Regions from separate parts of the Homo sapiens genome. Here all the other regions are linked to region 2. Evidence: promoter capture Hi-C in human tissues and cell types (Jung and others, 2019). All regions are on one chromosome and are shown on one strand. Each heading gives the region's core, a stretch centred on a gene start or on the middle of the fragment in contact. The rest is flanking DNA. Distances are from core to core; before and after follow the strand shown. Region 1 has its middle 19 kb from the start of DYNC1LI1. Region 2 holds the start of CMTM8 (CKLF like MARVEL transmembrane domain containing 8). Region 3 overlaps OSBPL10 (oxysterol binding protein like 10).

Region 1 (4,166 bases), core at 1,251-3,750, 350 kb after region 2:
ATGAAAAGAAGTATCATCTTCAAATTGCCTCCTCTGTGGTTTGTCATAAAGGCAAAATATTGTTACTAGATTCATATCCTGTGGGCCCTCTACACATTTAATGAATTATAGCCATATGTTATCTAAATGAATAATAATATATGTACCGGATAATAAATAAATGATAATGTAGATTAGTTTATCCTTTTAACCCACTGCTATCAAGGAGATGATAGTGTAATCCTAGCACTTTGGGAGGCTGAGGCAGGCAGATCGCTTGAGTCCAGGAGTTTGAGATTAGCCTGGGCAATGTGATGAAACCCCATCTCTACAAAAAGTACAAAAAATAGCCAGCTGTGGTGGGGCATGCCTGTAATCCCAACTACTTAGGAGGCTGAGGTGGGAGGATGGCTTGAGCCCAGGAGGTCGAGGCTGCAGTGAGCCGAGATTGTACCACTGCACTCCTGGGCGACAGAGTGAGATACTGTCTCAAAAATGGAACAAAACAAAAAAATCCAAAGTATTTCAAAGGTAATTATGTGCTTTTTTAAGACAAGAGCTGCTGTGCAGGCTGTGGCTTCTAAGTGAACTAATTCCTGTACTAATATGCAGGTCCCAGAAAAGCCAATGATTCATTTTGGTGTTAATGACTGGAAGTCAGGGCCAGATTTAACTGGGGACCAGGATTGCATCTTGATACAACTATCAAACCAGGGATACTTTTTCATTTTGGCCAAAACATTGCTGTAATATCCATGATCTGCTCAGAATTTACTGAGAATCATGATGATGTTTTAGAAGGAACATTCATTCTCATGGAGTTAAGGGACTTGGGGTGTATAGTCTAGGACTTGTACCTAATTAAGATCTTGGATAAATCATTTCACTTCTCTAGGCTTTGGAGTCTGAAGGATGAGGGGATAATGTGGATAATCTCTTGTGCCTTCTAGCTCTTCAGAAAAGAAAAAGTAAACCAGCTTGCAGCCAGTGTGTAACCTGCAACCATAAATAGACAGTTGCATGTATAAATATGCAATGTCTACATGGTGTGATTGAAAAAGTTTCTATGTGCCATGTCCCCAATATGTCCTGTCCACATAAACTCTGGCCTCATAATGTGAGTCTCTGCACAGAAGTAGAGCAGAGTAGCATGGTAGCAAGGAGACTGAAAGAATGCTACTTCTGAGCTGTGTATCTTTGGGTACATTACTTAATCTCTCTGGCTCTTAGTTTCCTCATCTATAGATGAATGAGTTGAATAGCTACTCACGGGGCTGTTGAGGATTAAGTAAACTGAGTATTTGAAAGGGCTTCATAAGATAACATAATACAAATATTAATTATTAACACTCATCCCTGTAGTGTGGGAAGTGATTTAAGATGTCAGAATTACAGTGAAATTCTGCATGCTTAATAAGAATAGAACAATAGCCTTCAAAAGAGATGAATATTCTACTTAGAACATTCAAAGACATAACGTCAACAGAGACCACTTAACTTCCTAACTCAGGAAATAGTTTATAAATAACTTGATTTTTAGAGATTGAACAATGGATTATTTGGATTATTCAGTCTTAAATTAGGTAGGCCTTTTGTTCTCCCTCTATCTCTTGCTAATTGTACATATTAAGGTTAGAAGAAAATGAAAACCAAGAAGGTGTGCTGCCTGAGAGGGAAACCAGTTGGCCACCAAGTGTTCTTCCCCAAGTGGCACCCTTATTGCCTTCCCCCCAGCACTTAGTCACCAGGTCATCTCTCAGGGACAGATTCACATTAGTGGAGTTCAGATGTGTAAACTAGAATTCTATTTTATTGATTTACGAGGAGACACCTTGCTGAGGAGCTGAACATCTGCATTATTTTTGCCAGTAAGTTGTAGACACACAAATAACAGTTATAGAAACAGAAAAGCCAAATTATGGTGGTTTAAACAAGACAGACAATTCTCTTTCCCATAAAGGAAGTCTGGGCATATGCAAGTCCAAACCGATATAGTAATTTCAATGTGTCATTGAAATATAAGCTTTTATTCTTCTGCTCTGTCATCTTCAATCTGTAACTTCCTTTCTCAAGGTCACTCCATGGTCCAAGATGACTGCTAGAAGCCACTCATGATGTCCATGTCCCAGGCAGCAATAAGGAGTAAAGAAGAAAGAAGGATATATCCCCTGAGTTTCAAGAGACTTTCCATTAGTCCCATAAATATTTCCACTTACACTTCATTGATGAAGAGCTAGTCTCATAGCCCCATCTAGCTACAAGGGCAGTTGGGAAGTGTAGTCTTTTAGCCAGGCACATTGTTACCCCAAATAAAGTGGAGGTTCTATTATTAAGAAGGGAATGAAAAGGATGTTGAGGTAGGCATTTCTGCTGCAGCTACCAAATTACAATCATAAGGTGGCTGAATGAGCAAAGAGTTAGATATGTGATTTAAAGACCACATTGTTAGGCTGAGCTTCTCAAACTTCAAACACAGTTTGGCTCAAACACAGCTAAGGCTGAACTTCTCAAACTTCAGTGTGCACACGAATCACCAGGGATCTTGCTAAAATGCAGATACTGGTTCAGAATATCAGAGGTTGGGACTGAGATTCTGCATTTCTAACAAGCTCCCAGATAATGCTGGTCTGTGGATCACATTTGGAGTAGAAGGACCTAAGGCATCATTCCCAACATTATTGGTATTTTCTCCAACAGTCAGAGGGAAGCAGGGAATGCAGCCGGAGTACTGCATGGGGAACCATGGGCTCGGGGTGCTTTGGGTGCCTGGAATTGGGGTAAGTGGACACTAGCTAAAGTTCAATGCTACAACTTGCTCTAACTGAACCTACTATAGCACCTTTCCCTTTCACAGCATCTGCCCTACATGCATACTGACTGAAATTCCTTCAAGGAGTGAGTTAAGAAAGAGGGAGGAATGAGAAACAGGGGAAGGTAGCCACTCTGGGCATCATGATCTTTACTCAGAATTCAGTCTACTGTTTAAGAGAACAGACTTTGGTTACACTGAGGCAGGAATTTTACTTTTGCCCTGCCTTGAGAAGTGCCTTGGGTAGGATGTAAGGCCATCGAGATGGCTCCCAGACCCAAGATATCCACCTTCTACCACCCATGGAAAAAGCCAAAACTACAACACCAAATGTCTCTTGCTTTGCTTTGCTCCTACTTAGCCCAATAGACTTCTCCAGATCACAGAGGATAATTCTTTTTGATTATATGTGGGACTCCATCAACTGCCCATTCTTACTAGTTATGCCATTGCAAAAGGGCCACATAAGAGAGACATAGGTTACTACTATATTGTAAACTCCTGGAAGGTTTTTGTTTTTTTTTGTTTGTTTGTTTGTTTTGTAAAGAAAAGCCAAAGAAGCTGGGCACAGTGTCTCACACCTGTAATCCCAGCACTTTGAGAGGCCAAGGTGGGCAGATCAATATGAGCTCAGGAGTTTGAGACCAGCCTGGCCAAAATGGCGAAACTCCATCTCTACTAAAAATACAAAACTTAGTTGGGTGTGGTGGTGCATGCCTATAGTCTCAGCTACTCTGGAGGACAATTGCTTGAACGCAGGAGGCAGAGGTTGTAGTGAGCCGAGATGACACCTGTAATCCCAGCACTTTGGGAGGCTGAGGCGGGTGGATCACCTGAGGTCAGGAGTTCAAGACCAGCCTGGCCAACATGGTGAAACCCCATCTCTACTAAAAATACAAAAATTAGCCGGGTGTGGTGGCAGGCGCCTGTAATCCCAGCTACTTGTGAGGCTGAGGCAGGAGAATTGCTTGAACCTGGGAGGCAGAGGTTTCAGTGAGCTGAGATCGCGCCATGGCACTGCAGCCTGGGCAACAAGAACGAAACTCTGTCTCAAAAAAAAAAAAATGCAGATTTTGAGTCCGTAGGTTCTTGGGAGAGGCAGTGCACCATGGACCCTGAATGCCCCTATATGTTCTTGCTCTGTATGACAAGAATGCAAGACTCTGGCTGCTTATTACCAGGACCAATTCTCAGGGTTGTTCTTGCAGAGAGTAATTTCATGGAATGAATTAATTTCCCTCAGCAGCTCCCCCTACCCTAAACAAAAAACAAAGAGCAGGCTTGCTTACTGCTCAATATAAAAACAGTGAATTCCCTAATCTCAGTGTTTCTCAGCTGTGACACAAACCCAGCATCATCTGGGCCTCTCCACATCTCC
Region 2 (3,913 bases), core at 615-3,114:
ATATGGTACATGCACATTTTACCTTTCTAAATTGAAAAACAAAATCTGAATTTAGAAATTCATCTGACCCCAGGAATTTTAAGAGAGGATTGTCCTTTGTTAATATTATGGAAATAAAGTTGTCTAGACTCCGTCTTTTACGTTCACTAAATGTCATGCATAATGCTTGAGTCTCCTCCAGCCATTTCATGTATGTATCTCTTATTTCCCCAAACTCATTAACAGTTTCTCTAAAGCAGCAGCTAACTTCAGCATGCATCAGTGTCTTTTGGAGGGCTTGTTCAAACACAGCTTCCTGGCTCCACCCTCAGAGTTTCTGATTCAGAGGGTCTGGGGGTGGGGCTTGAGACCTTGCATTTTTGATAAGTTCCCAGGGAACTTACCTGCTGTTGGTCCAAGGACCACTTTGAGAACTACTGCTCCAGGGAGAAGTGCTATATTTTAAATTTTAAGAATTTACCCACCAGCCCAAGGTGCTTACCAAATGCACATGGATGGAATCTCTCCAAATCTACATCTTTGCCATGCTTTTGAAGCCTTAACTTTTACTCCTGGAGGTCTTCCTGGCTAGGCCCTAGACTTAAAAGACACTAATTCCTTGTTTTATTTTATTAGATTGTCGTTTTTGCTTTCTTCTCAGCACACTTGATAAGACACTGTGAAGAAAATGTCCCTTCTGATCTCGTTTTTAACCTGTCTTGGAACAGATCAGCAGAAATGCCTTCACTGTGAATCAAAGATACCCTCGATTTATAGCCAAAGATTATTTCCTTTTCTTTTGGTGGCTTCCAGATAAAATGTTTCTTGCTACCCTTTCACAAAATAGAAGGAGGGACCAAGCGGAAGATAATCTTTTTGTTCAGAGGTCCATCTGTCAAAGCCTGCATTTTAGAGATGGCATTACTGAGGTCCAAAAACTAGAGCCACTCGCTCTGGGTCATACAGCCGATAAACGCACGCAGCCGAGCTCAGTTCTTCCCTGACCCTGTTACAAACTGCCTCACTAAATGAGGACCCCCATCCCCTTCCCATGCCAGGAAAGCACAGCTCATTTGTCCTAAAGTTAACATTACACAAATCACACCCTTCAAGCCTTCTTGAAACATTTTTTTTCCCCGAGGGTGACGGGACGGTTACGCTGATTCATCCTGGCCAGGGACCCCAAACATCTCCCCTCCTCCGGCCCAGGCGCCGTCACCCAGGCTCCACCGGTCCGCGGGACAGAGCCGCGGAGAGCGCCTGGAAGCGTCGCGCCCTCAAAGCCAAGCGATTAAGTTGGTTCCTCAAATTGTTCCCGACAGGAGGGGCAGGAAATAACACCGGGCTCTGGCGGCGGCCGCAGCAGGAGGGGGAGAAGAGCGGGCCGTCTCCCGGGCAGTGCTGGCGGCCTCTCATCGATCTCGGGTCTAAGGTCCGGCCGGGTCATCATTCCTGCCATTTCCACAGCATTCGAGGTACCACATCACCCCCTGCCTCGGTCGTCGCTCAGTCATTCCCTCCGCGCCGAGTCCTGGAGCGGCGGAGTCCCTGGAGGCCTGGGTTTCCTTAAGGGGCCCCAATGCCCGCAGCCCCCGACCCGCCCAGGTGGAAGGAAACAGGCTGCGGGCCTGGGCCAGGCGGGGCCTGACAGAAGTAAAGGCCGGGAGGGGGAGCGGAAGACGGCCAGAAGGACCCCTGCGCCCTCTCCTCCGCGCCGCCCGCCAGGCTGCCAACCCAGCCACCCTGGGTGCGACGCGGCGCCTTCTCCGCCGCTGGGAGTCGGGCAACAGGTGAAGAGGGCGGGCGTCCGCGGCGCCTCCGCGGGGCGGTCCCTCTCCTGCCCGCCTCCCGCCCGCCCCTCTCCCCGCCCCCTCCCCTCCTCCGGGCCTCCACCGCCTTCCCCGGCTGCCCGGCAGCCTCCCCTCGCTCGCTCTCCTCTTCCTCTAGGGCCCCAGCGCAGCTCGGGAGCCCGCGCACCGAGGCGCTAGGGGCACCGCGCACTAGAGGGACACCCGCCGCGCCTGGACAGCCCCCGGCGGGCGCCCCCCTCGCACCTCCTGCCCCGCGCGGGCCGCGCTCCCCTCCCCCGCGCCTGTGTCCCCAGGGCGCAGGGCCGCGCGTCCAGCCCCAGACCCGCCGGGGTCCCTGGGGACGCGCCAGCCCGGCAGTGGCTCGACGATGGAGGAGCCGCAGCGCGCCCGCTCGCACACAGTCACCACCACCGCCAGCTCCTTCGCAGAGAACTTCTCCACCAGCAGCAGCAGCTTCGCCTACGACCGGGAGTTCCTCCGCACCCTGCCCGGCTTCCTCATCGTGGCCGAGATCGTGAGTGCCGACGGGCCGGGGGTGGCGGGGGGCTCAGCTGGACCCCGGCGCGTGCTTCCGCCGTGCTTCTCGGGATGGAGCCTGCTCAGATCTTCCCGCGGGCTTTAGGGAACCGTTTTTGCTCAGCCTCGCCTTCTTCCCAAAGTGAAAGACTCTAAACAAGGTCCAGGAAACTCGGGCTGTCCTGGGAAGAAAGGGTTGTGATCCTCAGGATGTCTTGCTGTGGGAGAAATTCAGCTTGTTGGGTCCTCTCGGTGGCGGCGGCAGATCCTGGGAGCAGGAAGCTTGGCTTAGTGGCTATTGAGTTTGTGTTGAGTGTCAGAGACACCTGGTGCCTTTCTCACCTGATCTCCACGTGGATGGCCTCCTCCCTGAAAATAAAGCTTCCTAAGATCAGGGGAAGAGGAAAGGGCTTCTTTCTTTTCCTAATTATCTCCCTGGTAGTAACATTGAGGTGAGTCAGGAAAATTTTACTGAATAAAATCTGAGTGCCATAACCTATTTTAGGACCAAAGAGGTCTTTTGCATGGTGCTGTGCACATCCTGGTTTAGGCTCAGAACATTCCTGGGAAGGAGGCAGGGCATGGGCGTTCTTCTCTTCATTGGAGGGCATAGAGGCTGAAAACTCACGTGATCTTCCCAGAAGTCCCAGCCAGTCCTTCATAGCTGAGAAAGGACTGGAGTCCTGTCAGCAGTTAGAGGTGGTCACTGTTTGAGTCTTCTTCGTGTACCAGGATCTTGTCAAGCCCTTTAGATGTCCTCATACCCTCGTGTAATCCAACGACCACCCTCCCCTGTGAAGGCCTAGAGAGGGGACGTAAATCACACCGGTGGATGGTGAAGCATGGATTCAAACCCAGGCCTGCCTTTCTGCAGGGCCGTGCTCATAACTGCAAGCAGTTGAGACAGCTTCCAGCTGCCCCAGCAGTGCCCCTCTGTCATCTCTCACAGACTTTTGTTAAATATTTGGGAATTGAAAATGAGCCTATGTGGGAGTTAGAGAATGGGCACACCATCATGGTGCAGAAGTGACTGAAGACCTGGGCGGTTCCTTTGAGAAACCTGAAGTAAATCTTGTGTACCTCAAGTAGCTTGCTTGCTCCCCCAGTCTCAGATACCACCCGGACCTGCTCTATGAAGCCCCTGGTGGTCATAATGCACATAAGGTATGAGAAGTGTTGGCTTAGCTCCTCTCCCAGCTGGTTCCCTCAGCGAGTATTGAGGACTTCAGGAGACTCAAAAGCTGAAGGTATTGGAATCGCCTTGCAGGGCCTAGCTTTTAGGAGTTCAACAAATATTTGCTGTGCAAATGAAGGAGTTGGCAGGCTCCTCTGCTTCAGCAGCGCAAACAAAAGCTAAAATGACAGAGATGGGCCTTCTACCTTGGGGTGGATTTGGGCCAGGCATGAAGTATAACGCCTTTGGGTTTTTTTCTGATTTATTATCGATATGCTCTGTGTACTGCGCTTTTTCAGGAAATACAAAAGTGAAAGAAATGTAAGTGGCCCACAATCCCATTACTAGAAATAATCACTGTTGACATGTTAGCATGTATCCTTTTAGATTTCATTAAGCGTTTTGAAAAAGATGGGAAAACATGTAAGCAAAA
Region 3 (4,049 bases), core at 403-2,902, 470 kb before region 2:
ATGGAAATTCTTTTATTTTGCAAGGAGAATAGGATGTCTCTAAGAATTCCTGAAGAATATTCTAATATTCTAACTTGAGCTTGATAGCATATACAAACTGGGCCTTAGCTCTACCCAGTAAACACCTGCCATTCCCTTTTAAAACTTAATTGCTGTTTTTAGATCAAATAGCCACCCAAAGTAGCAGGCAAGAACATGACTACATACTTCTCTTTTCCACCTAGAATTAATTTCACTAGTGCCAATTATTTTCAGGAAAGAAATGCATCTCCAAATGGCACTTGAAAAAAGAAAAAAAACTGGGCAAAAATTTCACACCTCCAGGCAAATCCTTTACATCATTTGAGCTTTAGCAAATGAAACTCTGGAGAGACAAGTGCATTTATCAGGAATCTGCTTCATTAATCTGAAAGGGAAAATTATGTTAAGGAATAAGCCACCATTAATTAACGTTTATTGTATCCCCACTGGGTAAATGACACTGCAGTCACCATTTTACAGAAGAGAGAACACAATTCCTGCACACGAACTGCTTACAATGTAATCCTCAAGGCACACAAATATGACACAGAATAATGATATATAATACACAGTGCTTTGCAAAAGAGCTAACCGCCCTTTGCAGACACCTGCATTTAGAACTGCTTTCTACTCCTTCTCCACACTTCCTCACTGCTCTGAGCATGCACTTTTAAAAAGAGTACATGTAAGAGTATATAGTCCATGATCACTGTTCATATAAACACACAGAATGAACTCACTATAACGAATATAGTTCCACATATATCTCTCTCCACGGCCCAGCCTGCTGGTGGAATCAGTCAATTAATTCACTGCCAAACTCTTTCTGGGCAGGGCCCATAATGTCTTATTCAAAGGAGATGCCTGATGTATGTTTGTTGGGTGGATAAATGGAGGAGAGGGGACGGGAGAGAAGAAATGGGAAGACAGGGCAAGTGAAAGGAAGGGCGATTAAAGGGAGGCAAAACAGGGGAAGAAGAGAAGGGAAGAATAAAGAAAGAGGAACGAAGGAAGAAGGATCGAGTTCCAAAGCTTCTAGAAGTTTTAAGATGCCAGCACGGTTCTCTAGCAAATTTGAGAACTCCTTTTCATTGCCCCTAGTTTGTTGTTACTACTTTCACTCAAGGAATAAAAGATCTTGTCTCTTTTTAGCCTGGGACCTTGAAGCTTCAGGCTTAACCATCATTTCTCTCCAGTACCAATCTCCCAGCAAGGGTGGAGCATTTTAACTGCACATTATATATCTCTGGACACACAATCCCAAATTTCTTAGAGCCTCTAACTTAATCTATATGATCGTGGGATAAAGAAGGCATTATCTGAATGAGTTCCAGGCTCAACTTCCAGTGAAGTCCATGACATGTTTTTCTCCTAGTCAATTTTTATTCCTTCTTCGACCCCGGCTTACAGGTTGTTTTCACCAGATAGCCTTCCATCATCCTCCCAAAAGGCCATGATCCCCATCATCCATAAAACACATCATGGTTGTAATTAACTAACTACTTTTTTTCTTTTTTTTTCTGGAGACAGGGTCTTGCTCTGTCACCCAGGCTGGAGTGCAGCGGCGAGATCATGGCTCACTGCAACCTCTGCCTCCTGGCCTCAGATAGTCCTCCCACCTCAGTCTACCAAGTAGCTGGGATTACAGGCATGTGCCACCATGCCCAACTAATTTTTGTGTTTTGTTTTGTTTTTGTTTTTTTTTTGTAGAGACATGATTTCACCACGTTATCCAGGCTGGTCTAGAACCCCTGAGCAAGTGATCTGCCCACCTCAGCCTCCCAAAGTGCTAGGATTACAGCCATGAGTCACTGTGCCCAGCCTCTACTGATGTGTTATGTTACTAATTTGTTAATTTCTCTTGCCCTTACCAGGCTCTCGGTGCCACTTTGTCTCTTCTGTTCACTGTTGTTTCCCCAAACCTAGGACAAGATGTGGCAAACTGTGGGCAAAAAAATATCAGCTGAAAGCATGAGTGAGTGAGTGAATGAATGAATGAATGAATGAATATACAAAGGAGAGCACCCAGGCATCTCTTTGAGAGCTGGGAAGGGGCTGTTCTCCTCCCTTCGGACAGGTAAGAAGATTGGTCTCAATGCCACTATGAGATGGATCCATTTGAACAAAAACAATGTATACACCCAATCTAAGTGACAGCCAGTGGGACTTTAAAATTAGCAAGTGAAAAAGGAGGTACAATACCATTTCTGGGGATAAGTAGGACCAGGTTTGGGTTTTTTTTCTTGCTCTATCAAGACTGAGAAGTTCAGTAGTCAGGGGACAAGGTTTCATATTTTCCTTGTATACCTCCCAGGGTTTAGTTGATCATGGTCACAGAGAAAGTTTAGTAACAAAGAAGTGAAACCACCCACACTCATGCAAGGAGAAGGGGATTTGTTGCATGGATACAGGAAAGAGTGCCCAGAAACTACTTGAAAGAGCTACTCTTTCTTTCCTTCAGAGATATGGCCGTCTCTTATTTCTCTCTATCCCCTGGTCTCTATGGTCGCTGGTTTTCACACCTTTCTCTCCTCTTCTTGCTCAACTCAACTTCCTCCACTTGCAACAAAGCCCAGCAGAGCCGCTGGAGCCAAATCTACCCAATCCTCTAGTTTCTTCTCCTAATTCAGATGAGAGAAAGTGAGTTTACGTTATTGGCTCTGGGTCACATGCCTGCCTGAGCCCACTCAGCTGACACTGGAGATGTGGAAAACAGTGGCCATGTGACACACCATGTGGACACAGATCCCCCACTTCAACATAGGGTCTTCCCTCTGCCCACTGCTCTGTGATGTTTGGCCCAATGTAGTTTTTTTGTTTTTTTGTTTTTTTTTGTTTTTTTTTTGAGACACGGTCTCACTTCATCACCACCCAAGCTAGAGTGCAGTGGCACAATCATTGCTCATTGCAGACTCAACCTCCAGGACTCAGATGATCCTCTGAGCTCAGCTTCCCAAGTAGCTGGGAGTATAGGCTCACACCATGACACCCAGATAATTTTTATTTTGGTAGAGATGGGGTCTCATTATGTTGCCCAGGCTGGTCTTGAACTCCTAGCCTCAAGCAATCTTCCTCCTCAGCCCCTCAAATTGCTGGGATTACAGGTATGAGCCACTGTGCTGGCCCCAGTGTAGAATTCTGACATTCATGAGCTATAAGGATACATACTATTTACAAATACTTTTAAAACTCACTTCACAAGATTTGTAGGTCAACTGGAACATCAGTTAAGGCTTTTATCCAAGACAATTAATCAAATAATGGAGCATTTCTCTAAACTTAATGCTGGCATGACATGAATGCCAGGTTACAAAGCTTCCTGTCAGAGGGCCTGAAAGTGTACTAACTTCTTATAAATGCCTGTGATAAACACCCAGCTGTAACCAAGCCCAGAACACCCCACCTCCTCTTTCTTTCATTTGCAGTACAATCTCATAATGAAAAGCCAATAGAATCTGCCAGGTTATAGAGGAGATTAAAAAGAGATGAGGGCTCAATCCACAGTCCTCTCTAAGCTTAGCCTTTCCCTGGTGATTCCTAAGTCTAGAAAACAACCCAATTAGCTACGTTATACTACTTTTTCATATCAGGTCTGGAGGGCTATACTTTCATTAACTTTGTGGAAATTAAAATTACCACTGAGGAGCTCTGGATTTTGCTACAATATTAGCCAATTCTCTCTTTCAAGAGCCCTCTTGTGTTTTGCTCATGCAGTTGTGATTAAAACAGTTCCCTCTGTTCATGGGAATAAGTTCTTCTCCCACGACCATCACTAAGCCAGTGAGAAAAAAACTCAACTGTGGTCCCTGCAATAACCACTTGGAAAGTACAGGATCTAAAAAATATAATTGTGTGTAATTCTCACAAACGGTGGCTTTGTATCTTGTCCCTGCCTCCTCATAAATACACTACCTACTTGGGCAACATGACACCTCTTGAATTCCTGTCAGGTTACATCTGCCTAGAAAGCTTTTCCTCCCCATCTCTCATGGTCAAAGTCCTACCAGGCTTCCAATGCCCTTCCTCAG

What was found. Contacts are between HindIII fragments. The study calls those that stand out against the background at their distance.
Region 1: a fragment that was not itself captured here is called in contact with the fragment with the promoter of CMTM8 in region 2 in 1 of the 25 tissues and cell types used here (liver).
Region 3: a contact is called between a fragment that was not itself captured here and the fragment with the promoter of CMTM8 in region 2, in 1 of the 25 tissues and cell types used here (mesenchymal stem cells).

Annotation. Positions count from the first base shown.
Region 1 is chr3:32,587,396-32,591,561 of GRCh38, forward strand. No RefSeq gene overlaps it. Among named protein-coding and RNA genes, the nearest start is that of DYNC1LI1, 19 kb to the left of the region's middle. The HindIII fragment of the contact is 6,364 bases long and covers 1-4,166 here.
Region 2 is chr3:32,236,816-32,240,728 of GRCh38, forward strand. It overlaps CMTM8 (CKLF like MARVEL transmembrane domain containing 8), which reads left to right and starts at 1,865. Exons shown (of 4, transcript NM_178868.5): 1 at 1,865-2,304. The coding sequence starts at 2,158. RefSeq lists a silencer at 1,669-1,878. The HindIII fragment of the contact is 9,285 bases long and covers 1-3,913 here.
Region 3 is chr3:31,763,492-31,767,540 of GRCh38, forward strand. All of the region lies in intron 4 of OSBPL10 (oxysterol binding protein like 10), which reads right to left. Among named protein-coding and RNA genes, the nearest start is that of OSBPL10-AS1, 61 kb to the left of the region's middle. The HindIII fragment of the contact is 3,568 bases long and covers 1-3,436 here.